Regions from separate parts of the Homo sapiens genome. Here all the other regions are linked to region 3. The links are contacts of gene promoters, found by promoter capture Hi-C in human tissues and cell types (Jung and others, 2019). All regions are on one chromosome and are shown on one strand. Each heading gives the region's core, a stretch centred on a gene start or on the middle of the fragment in contact. The rest is flanking DNA. Distances are from core to core; before and after follow the strand shown.

Region 1 (3,339 bases), core at 260-2,759, 210 kb after region 3:
ACATCTCTCAGCCTAGCACAATATTGTTCTGGGTTAGAGGTAGGCTTTGGGGTCAGACAGGTCTGCACTTGATTCTGGCTCTGTCATTTACTACTGCGTGACCCAGAATGGGTGCTTTATTTATTTATTTGTTATTTTGGGGGACAGAGTCTCACTGTATCCTCCAGGCTGGAGTGCAGTGTCACGATCTCGGCTCACTGCAACCTCTGCTCCCAGGTTCAAGCGATTCTCCTGCCTCAGCCTCCTGAGTAGTTGGGATTACACACCCAGCTATTTTTTTGTATTTTTAGTAGATATGGGGTTTCACCATGTTGGTCAGGCTGGTCTCGAATTCCTGATCTTAGGTGATCCACCCACCTTGGCCTCCCAAAGTGCTGGGATTACAGGGGTGAGCCACCATGCCGGGCAACAGTGAGAGCTTTAACTCTCTAAGCCTCCTATGTAATGTGAGGACAATAGGTTTGTTGTGAGATCTAAAGATACATTTGTAAAGTGTAATTATTCTAGCAATTATTAAAATAGTTGGGGAGGAAAAGGAAAGGAGATTATTGCTTATGAATGACTCCTTTTGTGCTTTCCTTGTGAATATTTAGGTCCCAGAATTTACCCAGTGTGTTGTAATAATTTATATTTCTGTCTCCTGTCCTAGGTAAAAAGCTCTTGGAAGGCATGGATTGTCTTTTTTCTACCCAGCCTCAGCACCAGGCACAGAGTCTAGTTCAACAGATGTTAGTTATATCAATGAATATAATTCTAAGTGTCACAATTATCTTTAGATAATGATTTCAGAAAATTACAGAGACTTGAAAATCCAGAGAGCAATAAATCTTAGACTGCACAGATTCAATCTGTCTCCAGTTCTTCCCTCGTTGTGCATGAGGGCAAACTTAGGCTCAAGAAAGTTCACTATGTTTACTGCATATACATGTCTCAAAGCCCATGGACATGCTGCCCAGGGAAGGCAGGAGAAGCAGTCCCCTTGGATTAATCAGCTCCCACACATCCCCAAGGACAGTGAATCTAGGAGACCTCTTCCACCTGTTGGCATCTTTTTTTTTTTTTTTTGAGACAGAGTCTCGCTCTGTCACCCAGGCTGGAGCACAGTGGCGCGATCTCGGCTCACTGCAACCTCTGCCTCCCGGGTTCAAGCGATTCTCCTGCCTTGGCCTCCTGAGTAGCTGAGACTACAGGCGCACGCCGCCACACCTGGCTAATTTTTTTGTATTTTAGTAGAGATGGGGTTTCATTGTGTCGCCCAGGCTGGTTGCGAACTCCTGAGCTCAGGCAATCCGCCGCCCTTGGCCTGCGAAAGTGCTAGGATTGCAGGCATGAGCCACCGCGCCTGGCTGGCATCTTTAAAATGACACCAATGAAGCTTATGATTCTGGGGTCTAGCTGCTCTCTTCGTTGGTGAATAGGTGGATCACTTTGCAGACCTGTTCTACTTGGTGGGCATGCTTCTGAATATTTTTCTAAAGGTGCTGTAACTTTTGTTGCTTTCATTATTATACAAGTAAAATGTTTATTGTTGCAAGTTTTAGAAATGTAGAAATGCCAAATAAAAAGCAGTCACCTGCAAACTCACTGCTCAGAGGAAGCCCTATAAAGATTGCATCTTGTAGCTCTTCAGACTTCTGTCTGTGCGTGTTTATAGGTGTAACACAAACATTGCCAGCACTAACCACCCTGCATGTACAAATGAGGTCACATTTTCATGAATTCCTAGATTTTGCAGACCACACTCCCCATCCAAATAACATCAGTGCCTCAGTGTATTCACCTCTAGCCCTGTCTTCCTGTAGCCTTCCCCATTTGTTTTTGAAGCTCCCTAGCAGCTGCTGCACACATTTTGCACTTCATGCCTTTCTTCTCTCTCCTTCCCATCATCCTTTGGGGCCAGAAGGAACCAGGCTTCTCCCAGGCCTGGATATCATGGCCTCCATCTACCTTAGAGCTTCAAACTTCGGCTACATGGCTGTCGCATGTGGAATGGAGGAGCTTTCTACGTTATAGGAGATCTGCATGGGCTGGGTCCTCGTTTGGTCCTTGATTCAGTGTGTTGAAAGGGAGAGAAAAAAGAATTTGGAAAATCCTCTTAGGAAACTGGCTTGACTTACAGGGCAAAGTCCAATTTTGAAGGTCAAAGACTGCATGCATATTAAAGTCCTTCTCCTTGCATTCTTTTTGTAATAATTCAACTCTCTCTCCAGACAAATGCTCTGGAACAACTAGGAAGAAACTTACATATTTGGAAAAGTAACTTTAAAGAGCAGGTTATCAGTCTAGGCAACATAGCGAGACCACGTCTCTACAAAGAATAAAAAAGTTAGCCAGACGTGGTGGCACACACCTGGAGTCCCAGCTACTTGGGAGGCTGAGGCGGGAGGATTGTTTGGGAGGAGGTAGAGGCTGCAGTGAGCTCTGATCATGCCACTGCACTCTAGCCTGGGCAACAGAGCAAGATCCTATCTCAAAAAAAGTATATTACTACTTTTCAAAAATATTACCTCTATAGCATATAAGAATTTATTTAACAGATGCTTGTGGCAGGTTGTTTGCAAGTCTCACAGGATCCATATCCCCTGAAGTGCAGCCTGGACTATAATGCGGGCTCCTCCCTTTCAGACACATGGTGTGGTGCTTCGGTTAGTCAGGTCTTCTTTCACAGCTGTCAGTGAAGACTTGCTTTTTCTTTTGTTCATTGGTCTTCCACATCTCTTGTTAAGTTTATTCTTGTTTGTTCTTAGAAGTTTTATAATTTTTGTTTTAAGTTTCAATAATGCCTTCATTCTGTCTTTGAATTAGTAATTACTGTTATGTAGGAAAATCACCGATTTTGTATTTTTATTTTTAAATTTTAGAATCTAAATTTATTATTATTATTATTATTATTATTATTATTATTTAGAGATGGGATTTCACCATGTTGGCCAGGGTGGTCTTGAACTCCTGGAGTCAAATGATCTGCCTGCCTTAGCCTCCCAAAGTGCTGGGATTATGGGCATGAGCCACTGCTCCTGGTCAAAAATTTAAATTAAGTTTTATTTAAAAATTTGAATTTTTAAATTAACTCTTATTAGTGTTAATAGTTCTCCAGTATATTCTTTCAAGTTTTCCAGATATGTAGTCACATCATCTCTAATATTTCTACCTTTTATTATACATTGTTATTGTATTAAGCTAACTAAAAATGGTGGAAGTAAGCATTCTAGCTTGTTCCTGGTTTCAACAGGAATCTCAAAGTGCTGGGATTACAGGCCTATTTTTTTTCACCATTAATCATGATGTTGACTACTGGTTTGAGATATTTTTCCTTTTAATAATGTTAAAAGAGTATCC
Region 2 (3,139 bases), core at 234-2,733, 130 kb before region 3:
ACAAAGAAAATGGTTCTGCCATTGATAGAAATGGAAGTCATCGGAAAAAAGGAGAAAGGTGATGGATAAGCGGTTATAGCACATTTTAAGTGAAAGCAGAACTATAAAGCAGAATGATCTGGAGATGAAGAGGAAGGTCCAGGCTAAAGCTGTGGGTTTGGGAGTCATCCCGTAGAAGTCTGAACTCAAAACTTCTCAAGAAATAAAGTGTAAGGTGAGATGCAAGAGTTGAGCCTTAAGATACACTCACCTTTGGAGTCAAGAAAATGAAGAGGGACTGAACAGCAGAGAGGTACAAGACAGTCCAGCACCATAAAAGCAATAGGAAGCGTTTTACAAAAGAGGGGAGCAGTGTCCCATTCCACGAACTTCTACCCCATTCAATTCCTGCCAGCCAGGTCCCTGCCCCTCTCCCCTCTCCCATCTCTGCTTCTGGGTTTTCTCTCATATGGGTTTCAGTGTCTGTCTACTGATTTCTTCTCCATCCCTTTGCTACAGGGGGTGGCACCGAGAGCCGACCAGTCCTTCGCTACAGCAAGGAACAGAGGCCAACCACACTGCCCATCCAGCCCTTCGTGTTCCAGCACCACTTCCCCAAGCAGCTGGCCAAGGCCCGGGCCCTCCACAGCCTTTCCCAGCTCTACAGCCTCTCAGGCTGCAGCCGTACACAGCAGCCTGCCCCACTGGCTGCCCCTGCTGCTCAAGTCTCAGTCCCAGCTCCCTCAGGGGAACCGCAGGCATCCACTCCCCGAGCCACTGGCAGAGGTGCCAGGAAAGCTGGGTCTGAGCCAGAGACCTCTCGGCCATCGCCCCTGGGCAGCTACTCCCCCATCCGGAGTGTTGGCCCCTTTGGGCCCAGCACTGACTCTTCTGCCTCCACTTCGTGCTCCCCTCCCCCAGAGCAGCCCACAGCCACAGAAAGCCTGCCCCCATGGAGCCACTCCTGTCCTTCTGCTGTCCGGCCTGCCACCTCCCAGCAGCCGCAGAAGGAGGATCAGAAGATACTGACCTTGACTGAGTACCGGCTCCATGGAACAGGAAGCTTGCCGCCTCTGGGCTCCTGGCGATCTGGCCTCAGCCGAGCAGAGAGCCTGGCCCGGGGAGGTGGTGAGGGCAGCATGGCCACCAGGCCCAGTAATGGTACGAGCTCCAGCATCTCCCTACCCAACCCGCCACCTCACGCAAGCACTTCCACCACCTCCCCTTTGAGTGGTTGCTTACACTCTCACCTGGGGCCAGAGGTTAGGATGTCTGCATCCCTCCCTCAGCATCTGTAGATAATATCCACAGATAATCTAGTGTTTCATATGGGCCCACTGGGTGGATGTGAAACTCTGTCTCGCTGTCTCCTGCCAACTCTTGTCTTTCTGCTAATCTGTTCTGCTTCCAGCCAACCACCTATCCCCTCAAGCCCTCAAGTGGCGGGAATACAGGAGGAAGAACCCACTAGGGCCACCTGGTTTGTCAGGGAGCCTAGACCGAAGATCACAAGAAGCTCGGCTGGCCCGAAGAAACCCTATCTTTGAGTTCCCTGGCTCCCTCAGTGCTGCCAGCCATCTGAACTGCCGGCTGAATGGTGTGTGAGCAGGGTCCCCAGTACACCCGGGGCAGGCTCTGCCATGGCTGGAAAGGGCTAGAGAAGGGGTCAGTCCCAAAGGAACGTGTCTCAGACGGTACGAGGCACTGAACTGGCCTGGAACTCCTGCACTGAGAGTTGCTCAGGATTGATTTTTCTCTTCTTTCCAGGCCAAGCAGTGAAGCCGTTACCACTGACCTGCCCTGACTTCCAGGACCCCTTTTCCTTGACGGAGAAGCCTCCAGCTGAGTTTTGTCTGTCCCCAGATGGCAGCTCAGAGGCCATTTCCATTGACCTGCTTCAGAAAAAAGGTGCATACAACCCCCAGCTCAGGCCAGGGACTCTGCTGTCACTACCTCCTCACACTTGCCCTACTACCTAGCCAGTCTGAAACCTCTAAGTGCTGGCTGGGCCCAGTGGCTCACGCCTGTAATCCCAGCACTTTGGGAGGCCAAGGCAGGTGGATCATGAGGTCAGGAGTTCGAGGCCAGCCTGGCCAACATGGTGAAACCCCATCTCTACTAAAAACACAAAAAAAAATTAGCTGGGTGTTGTGGTGGGCGCGTGTAATCCCAGCTACTCGGGAGGCTGAGGCAGGAGAATTACTTGAACCCAGGAGGTGGAGGTTGCAGTGAGCCAAGATCACACCATTGCACTCCAGCCTGGGCAACAAAACTGAAAACTCCTTTTCAAAAGAAAACCACAAACAAATCTCCAGGTGCTGGGAAGGTGTTGGAGCACACAGGCTCTGGGGCCAGAGGAGGAAGCTGTGTGCTGTGTATCATGAGTGCATGTGAGTGAGCAAGGGTCATTCATCAGAGGCTTTCAGAGTCACGCTCCGGTCCCTTCCTGCAGTGAGCAAAGTCTCATGAGGAGGCTTCCATGTCATCAAAAAATGCCTCAGTGCTCTTGGAGGGGGCGGGTGAAGGTACTAGAGGGCCCAGCAGCTTGGGTAAGAGTGTTGGTGACATCTAGTAAGATGAAGATTGACAAGACCCACACTATTTAGCAAATAAGTGACCACTGAACTAAGAACATTTTTAGGGAGATGGAGAGAACTGAGCATAATTGTGGGCTGAAGATGAGCCTGTGAAGAGAGAGCTGAAGTTCCTTGCAAAGGCAGAAGGGGAGAATCAGAGCTCAGGGAGAAAGAACCCGGGCAAGAAGGGAAACGGCCACCTTCCTCCAGGACGCGAAGGGGATGCAAGTGGGCAGGGGAGTGAGGGGTGTACATATGAGATTGTTATGGATTTTGGAGGTAGAGGGAAGTTAAAGGAGTTTATAACTAGGGAACTCTGTTCTCTGAAGCAGAACCAAGGGCTTGAGAGGAGGGGTGTCGATTTCACATGGCAACTTGAGGGTATGGCAGAGAGTGCTGACAAGCCATGTGTCAAAGAACCGCCCTTGTCTGGCACTGGCACTGGGGTGAGGGACTTGGGTTTTCTTCAGGTCAGTGGCCCGGTTTCTCAGAGTGGAGAAAACCGATAGTTGGCCTGACCCAGGATTGGAATAAGGGCTGAGAGGTAAGGACATTGAGAGGCTTGACAGTGGCATCACTGAGGT
Region 3 (3,450 bases), core at 462-2,961:
ACTGGAGGCTGGAGGTCACAGAAGCCCAACCCCTGGGGGGCTGGGAACATGAGCAGTCGACACAAACAGCTATGTCATCTCTGATGTTCAGACCATGCTTTATGCTAATCTAACCATAGGTTCATCTTAAAACAATCCTGGGTGGAAGGAAGATGGGGAAACTGAGGCAGAGAATGGGGAAACTACCACCACACCAAAGCCATATGGCCATTCTCCTACCTTAAGCTGGGGGTTGGGAATGGCAGGAAGTGAAGTCTGGTTGGGGTTGTGGGGTGGGCAGAGAAATCTCAGGGTAAATGACCTGCCAAGGTAGCTGCTTTGGCATTTGTGGCCCTGTCCCTCTGCCCTGTGGCCTGGCATGGTCTCCAGGCTGACAGCTTAATGAGGGTAAATGAGGAGCCATTAGAACCTGAGCTGGGGCCCCAGGGCACAGCAGGGCTGCTGAAGCCAGAGGTCAAGGCCAGGGAATTTCTAATGGCCCCTTAGGGTTGTAACTCAAGTGGGGTCTCATCTCTGGATCCCTCTCCCTCCTCCTGCAGGCTAGTACCTCACATCCACATCCCCCCATCCCCAAACGGCTGCAGTCTCCTCTCCAATTTCAGCTGGAGGATTAATTGAGGTAGATGGTAAATTCTTATACCTTCCACCCCCACAATGACTCATTGCTTGATCACTGTACATTCTAAAAGCTGGAACCAAACAGAATTACAGGGCTAAGTCCTCTGGGGGAAGTGGTAGGTGGTTTTGATTTATCCACTGTCTTGGATTACTTGTGTAAGTTTACCCTAGCCCTGGTTACTGAGATGAAACCATTTCTCTCCTGGCGCTGGGGACATAAGGGGATAAGGTGCCCCAATCCTCTTATTCCCATACCCGGGGGGCCCCTTCCCAGAGCCCTAACTCCTCCCATTGTCCCCCAAGTCCACACTCACATCAGTGGCCTTCTTCTCGGCCTGCTCCAGTTTCTCCTGGGCCTCCTTCACGGATTCAGAATACTTTTCCACCTCATCCTCTGTCCCCTTCAGCTTCTTCTGGAGGGCCTGCTGCTCCTCCTCCAGCTGGGACAGAGGGGACTTGGTCAGCCAGGCTGGGAGGGGGCCCAGGCCCAGAATGGAGACGCGGTGTGTGTAGGGGCGCTACTAAGATTTGGAGGCTACTGGGATGGAAGCGGAATAACATAAAAGGGACAGTACAGTCAAGGGTACTGGTGGGACCCGTTGAGGGTACAGAGAAAACTTCAGGCCCCAAGGAGCAGGACCAACCGCGCTCTGCAAAGGCAGAGTGGAAACCAGGGGCCTGGGGCTTCCCCAGGCTATTGTAGGGGAGAGAAGCGGCTCTGGCGAAGGCCCTGAGGGTACTGCGAAGGCCCAGCCCCCACCCTGGGTGAGAGAGAGCCTTGGCGGGCAGGCCCGGGGCTGGGGGACCCATGGCAGCGGCCCACCCTTGCCCTAGGCGCGGGGAGAGCAGGCTGCACTGGGCCCGGCCCTAACCTGCTTGCAGCGGTCCTCAGCTTGCTTCTTGTCGGCTTCGGCCTGCTCGGCGCGGTCGATGGCGTTCTCCTTGTCCAGCTTCAGCATCTGCATCTTCTTCTTGATGGCGTCCATGGCTGCGGTGGGGGGTGGGCCGGCCGGCAGGCGGTGAGGACCGGACGGACTGGGCTGGGTGAGCGGACTGGGTGCACCGGTGGCAGGCGAGGAGGACGGAGCGGGACTGGGACGTCCCGGCCACGCGGGCGCCTAAAAGGCGGGGAGGGACCGGGCGGGGCCGGCAACCAGGACCCTCCCCCACCTCGGCCCAAACCTTGTAGGGGCAGAAGCACGGCCCGGCCGGGGGGTGCGGCCGCCCCCTTCGCCCACCCACTGGGGACCGCCTCCCTTGGGGTCCCGCCCCCATCCCCCTCTTCCCTGCCAGCCGTCGGAGGAAAAAGTGGCCGACGGTCGGCTGGAAAAACCCCGGCGATGCGAAGGGGAGGGGACCCTTGGGCTGGGGGCTCCGTGCTTCCTCTGAGTGACAGCCGGACCCAGTGGCAGCTGCGGCTGGGGCCCCTGGGGCTATTTCGGGGCGTGAGCTCACGGCAGCTGCCCGGGCGCAGGGACCGGCGTGCCCCCCCTCAGCTGCAGCAGCCGCTACCCTTAATTTAGAAGTTTCCTGCAAATCCCCCCGGATTAAATGTCTCTCGGGAGGCGGAGCTCCTCGGCAGTTTGAGTGCCTCAGTTTACCCTGAGTCCCTCTAGGTTTGCGTTATCGACGTGGTGGTAGTAGCGGAGTCTCATCGGGAGCTTGGGGAAACTGAAGCAGGAAGCGAGCCCAGAGCCCCGGTCGCGGTGGGGAGTGTGGCCGGGCTTGCTGCCCCCAGGACCGGCCTGACCTCTCATCCCCTCGCCTCCCCTCCCAGCCCCTGCCCCTGGAGCCAGGCCCTTCCTGCGAGCACCCGGCGGCTCAGGACCCAGCTCCCCGCCCCGCCCCCCACGTGCCCCGCATATTTTCCACGCGGCTGCGGCCAGGCTGGTCACCGCGCGTTCCCCGCCCCCGCTCCCACCCGGACGCGTCCCGAGCCCCTCCGCTCCCCGCCCCTGGCTCCGCCTGGCCCCACTCCCCTCCGCGCGCCTTCCCTCTTCTCCCCCGCTCCCCGCGGACGCTCCTCTCTTTCCCAGTGGGCCAACTTTATGCTGAAATTTCTTTTCTGCCCTTTTTTGGGATGTTTCCCCATTGGGAGGCGGAGCCGGGCTGCGGCGGGGAAGGCGGAGGGCGAGGGGAAGAGTCACTGAGCTGCGGGGCATAGGGGGTCCGGGGCGAGGTGCCTTCTCCCACCCAGGCCGCCAAACCAGCGCCGGAGCCGGGTCGTGGGGTCTGGGAGTCGGAGGCGCGAGGCGCGAGGGTGTTTGTTTTCGTTTTTCCCTGGGGTGGGGTGGGGGGAAAGGAAGTGGAGAGCCGCCGGGAGGAGGGGGAAGGGGAGGAGAGAACAAGCGGAGGAAGCCGGGAGGGAGCTGCTAGCCTCGCCCCCACCCTCCAGTCATAGAGGGGCGGGAGGCCTGGATTTTGCAGTGGGCTGGGGACCGTGGGAACCCGAGGCCGCTGGCCGGGGCGGTGGGGAGGTGGCGTGGAAATGCATTCAGATCTGTTTAGCTGCCTGCTAGCCACACGGAGAGCAACCCTGGCCTGACCTCGCAGTGTTCCTCTAACTCCGTGGAAGACGCCTCATCCACCAGTAGCCTATGCTAGACCACTGGGTATCCCCTGCCCTTCGCGTCTCACAACCACCTAATCCTGGAGAGGCTGCCTTCTACCAAGGAGGTTCCTCCTCGGGTCGGTCTGGGCTGGCCTCTGGCCGCGCCTTATGTTTTCTTCAGTCTGTTTTGTAGTCTTACTTCTAGTTCCTCAACTCATTCATTCATTTGACTGTCCCATGACATTGTTGTCAAATATCTTTTTAAAAGTTAATGCGAATAT
Region 4 (3,412 bases), core at 392-2,891, 170 kb after region 3:
GTCAGCTGGTGTGGTAGTCATTAGGCCATTCACAAATCTCTCTGTCCCTCTCGTTTGCCATCCAGACACACGATAGTGTGCTTTTCCCCCTTAACAATAGGTGTGGTCCTGTGCCTTCCTGTTGCCATTGTGTTGGCCACTGAAATGTAGGTGGAGGCAACACAGCCACTTCTGAGTAGAAGCTTTAAGAGTCAGTGTAGGCTTTGTTACTTTCCCTTTTCTTTTTGTCATGGTGACCAGCAGTGTTCCCAATGGTAGCTGTTTTGTCATCCTGAGTCCCAGAGGGGTGAAGACCATGATGCGGAGCAGAAGCCCCACCAGCCTCTGGTGGACCTGCATCAGGAGCAAGAAACAAACCTTAATGGCTTTAAGCCTCTCAAGGTTTGAGGTCATGACCACAGCACAACCTAGCCTATGCCAGCTGACAGGGGCAGAGGGCAGCAGTAGCAGTGGGATGCTTTCCTGGAGAGCAAACCTCCTCTCAGCAGAGTTAGGACGGCAGCTTTCACCTCTGCATTCCTCAGGCTGTAAATGATGGGGTTCAGCGAGGGCGTCACAACCCCGTAGAACAATGCGACAGTCTTATCCACGTTGGGATCCTTGGCCTTGGGTTTGAAGTACATGAAGGAGATTGTCCCATAAAAAACCACCACCACTGTGCGGTGGGCTGAGCAGGTGGAGAAGGCTTTGCACCGGCCTGCAGCAGAGGGTACCCTAAGGATGGCAGACAGGATGAAAAGGTAAGACAGGCAGATGAGCAAGAGGGGGGCCAGTGTCAGGACGGCTGTGGCCACCATTAATGCCAGCGCATTGAGGGAGATGTCCCCACAGGCCAGTTTTAGCACTGCCAAGATCTCATAGAAGTAGTTGATGACGTGGCCACAGAAGGGGAGGTGCCAGACAAGGATGGACTGTAGCAGTGAGTTGGCAAAGCCTGTCCCCCAGCTCAGCGCTGCCATCTGCATGCAGGTCTGCCCACTCATGAGCTCTGGGTACCTAAGCGGCTGGCAGATAGCCACATAACGGTCATATGCCATCACAGCCAGCAGCAGGCACTCCGTTGATCCCAGCGCCAGGGTCAGGTACATCTGCAGGGCACAGCCAGGGAAGGAAATGGTCCTCTGGGTTTCCAGGAAATTGTCTAGCATGAGAGGCACAAAGGAGGAGGTGCCGCAGATGTCCATGAGGGAGAGGTTGCTGAGAAGTACATGGGGTTGTGCAGGCGAGGGTGCAGCACGTTCAGCCCTATGAGGAGGGCGTTCCCCAACACATTCACGGAGTAGATGCCCAGGCAGAACACAAACAGGACCACCTCCAGGTTACAGTGCTCGTGTAGCCCCATCAGGACGTATTCCGTCACAGCTGTCTGGTTTGCCCACTTCATCTCATTCTCTCTCCTTTTCCATCTGGACCACCCAGCTTTTTGGAAAAAGCTCCAACTGGCCTGGGAGCCCAGTGACCTGATGTCTGAGCTGCAGCAGGTCAGCCTCCCTCTCTGGAATTTAGTTTCACCATCTGTATAATGAGGGAGTTGGACTTCAGATCTGCAATCTGGCCTTCTCAGCGCTGCAGTTCTGTGGACGTCACTGAGGGGAGGATGGGGCACATTCTAGTCCCCTAGGCTCCTCTCTGCTCTCCCCAGGATGGGGTCAGAGGAGACAGCAGAGAAAGATTCATGTTTAAAATGATCGTTTGGAATCCAAAGTGTTTTTGGTCATTAACAGGAAGCATCTTTTCTACATTACGGTTTCATGTGACCAAATTATGGCCATAGTATTTCAGATTTATTCATCCACTAAGTATTTATTAAGTACCTATTCTGTGCTAGGTATCAGGTGCTGGGGCTATAGCAGTAAGGAAAGTAAGTGGACAAAAGGATTCCACACCTGTCACAGGCGCTGCCCCACTCCCTGAGTCAGGTGAGATGAGCTCCGGAAGGCAGGTGGGTAATGGATGATGCTCACCTAGTGTTCCTTGGGCCATGAAGATCAAATATTTCAGCCCCATAGGATGTGTAAGCTTGATTTCTGGTCATCTCTCCTTAAGGAATCATGGACCATTCATTATTTTGTTTAAAAGGACACATAAGAACGTACATGTCTCAATAGAGTTACTGGTCACAGGACTGAACTGTGGTCATGAAAGCCAAGCAACTTACTTTCTGGCCTCCATATTGCTTTGTAGGAGAAATGATACTGACAATGATGTCACACGAGGAGGGAAGCCAGGCACGAATCTGGTGGAGGTGCGGTCAGTTGTGACCAGCTTTGCAAAGGGAGCGGTGGGCGAGGCTGTGGTCTCTCCCAGGTGACCTCCATCGCCATGCAGAGCTGCTCTCACTTCTCCTCGGGAAAGGCCAGCGTCAGGTATTCCTAGGAGGAAGCCCAGGTGTGTCCAGAGAACAGTAGTCTTGTTAGAACTGGAAAAATGTCTTATGGCCAGGTGGCCCCTGGTCTGAAGGAAAAATAGGAGCTGAGTGTGAACTTTTATCACTCAGAAGATATAATCCACCTCTCCCCTCCTGCCCTTCGCTCCTGGGTTGGTTGTGAGGACAGTGCTTTGTGACAGCAGTGGAGCCCTGTCTGTCCTTCCGGGCTAGATTTCTTCTTTCTCTTATTCCTCCTGTTTCGTTGTATCCACGATTTGTCGAGTTGCAGGGCTCACCCTTTCCTGAAGAAACCATCTCTTTTCCCAGCTCCGCACCTTTGTCCGAGATGGAGGCGTGTCCTCCCGCCCATCCCCAGTGGGGGGTGTTCTGCCCATTCTCCAGAGCCCAGCACTGCTCCATCTCTTTTCCTCCCTCTCCTTCCCCTTGCTGTTACCTGCTGCCTTCTTGTGCTCCCACTGCCCTTGGCCATCCCTCTGTGTCATTGTGCGCTGTGGTGCACCTGTCTTCTCTACTACACCTTAAGAGCAGGACTCTGCCTCCTTCCTACCAGCACCTCATGCAGCAAGTGCTGCCAATAGCAGGCACCCAGCAGATAGCGAATGCACGACTCCAAAACCCAGCTTTGCCTCCTGGCTGTAGTTCAGACTAGCTGTGTGACACTGACCAAGACACTTGACCTCTCTCAGACTCAGCTTCCTCCTTGAAGACTGGGATGCTATGTAGCTCAGAGGAAACATACACCTGAAGGTGCTGCCCCGGGGGGTGCAATGACCTGTTACTGAGGCTGGATGGAGGATGGCATCCATCATCAGCTACAGGTGCCTCCTCTATCTACAGGTTCCTGCTCCATCTATACTAGCCACCTCCTGGACAAGGGCTCCAGTGTCCTCCATGACACCAGCTTTCTCCAGAGCCTGTGCAGGATTTCCTTCCTCTACCCTGAATCAGGGTGATTCTTAAAGGACAGTTTCAGGAACATATAGGGGCACTTGGGTAATCTTGGTCAGTAACTGACCTTTAACT

What was found. Contacts are between HindIII fragments. The study calls those that stand out against the background at their distance.
Region 1: a contact is called between a fragment that was not itself captured here and the fragment with the promoter of TPM2 in region 3, in 4 of the 25 tissues and cell types used here (heart left ventricle, lymphoblastoid cells, mesenchymal stem cells and 1 more).
Region 2: a contact is called between a fragment that was not itself captured here and the fragment with the promoter of TPM2 in region 3, in 2 of the 25 tissues and cell types used here (lymphoblastoid cells and thymus).
Region 4: a fragment that was not itself captured here is called in contact with the fragment with the promoter of TPM2 in region 3 in 6 of the 25 tissues and cell types used here (bladder, heart left ventricle, liver and 3 more).

The regions. Positions count from the first base shown.
Region 1 is chr9:35,894,154-35,897,492 of GRCh38, forward strand. No RefSeq gene overlaps it. Among named protein-coding and RNA genes, the nearest start is that of HRCT1, 10 kb to the right of the region's middle. RefSeq lists an enhancer at 1,237-1,736. The HindIII fragment of the contact is 7,635 bases long and covers 1-3,339 here.
Region 2 is chr9:35,554,562-35,557,700 of GRCh38, forward strand. RUSC2 (RUN and SH3 domain containing 2) reads left to right here. Exons shown (of 12, transcript NM_014806.5): 3 at 499-1,140; 4 at 1,391-1,576; 5 at 1,747-1,887. Among named protein-coding and RNA genes, the nearest start is that of CIMIP2B, 7.7 kb to the right of the region's middle. The HindIII fragment of the contact is 7,099 bases long and covers 1-3,139 here.
Region 3 is chr9:35,688,214-35,691,663 of GRCh38, forward strand. It overlaps TPM2 (tropomyosin 2), which reads right to left and starts at 1,712. Exons shown (of 9, transcript NM_003289.4): 1 at 1,491-1,712; 2 at 933-1,058. The coding sequence starts at 1,604. RefSeq lists an enhancer at 1-154 and a silencer at 3,050-3,129. The HindIII fragment of the contact is 5,966 bases long and covers 1-3,450 here.
Region 4 is chr9:35,858,597-35,862,008 of GRCh38, forward strand. TMEM8B (transmembrane protein 8B) reads left to right here. Exons shown (of 13, transcript NM_001042590.4): 13 at 1-3,412. It also overlaps the pseudogene OR13E1P. Among named protein-coding and RNA genes, the nearest start is that of OR13J1, 10 kb to the right of the region's middle. The HindIII fragment of the contact is 4,522 bases long and covers 1-3,412 here.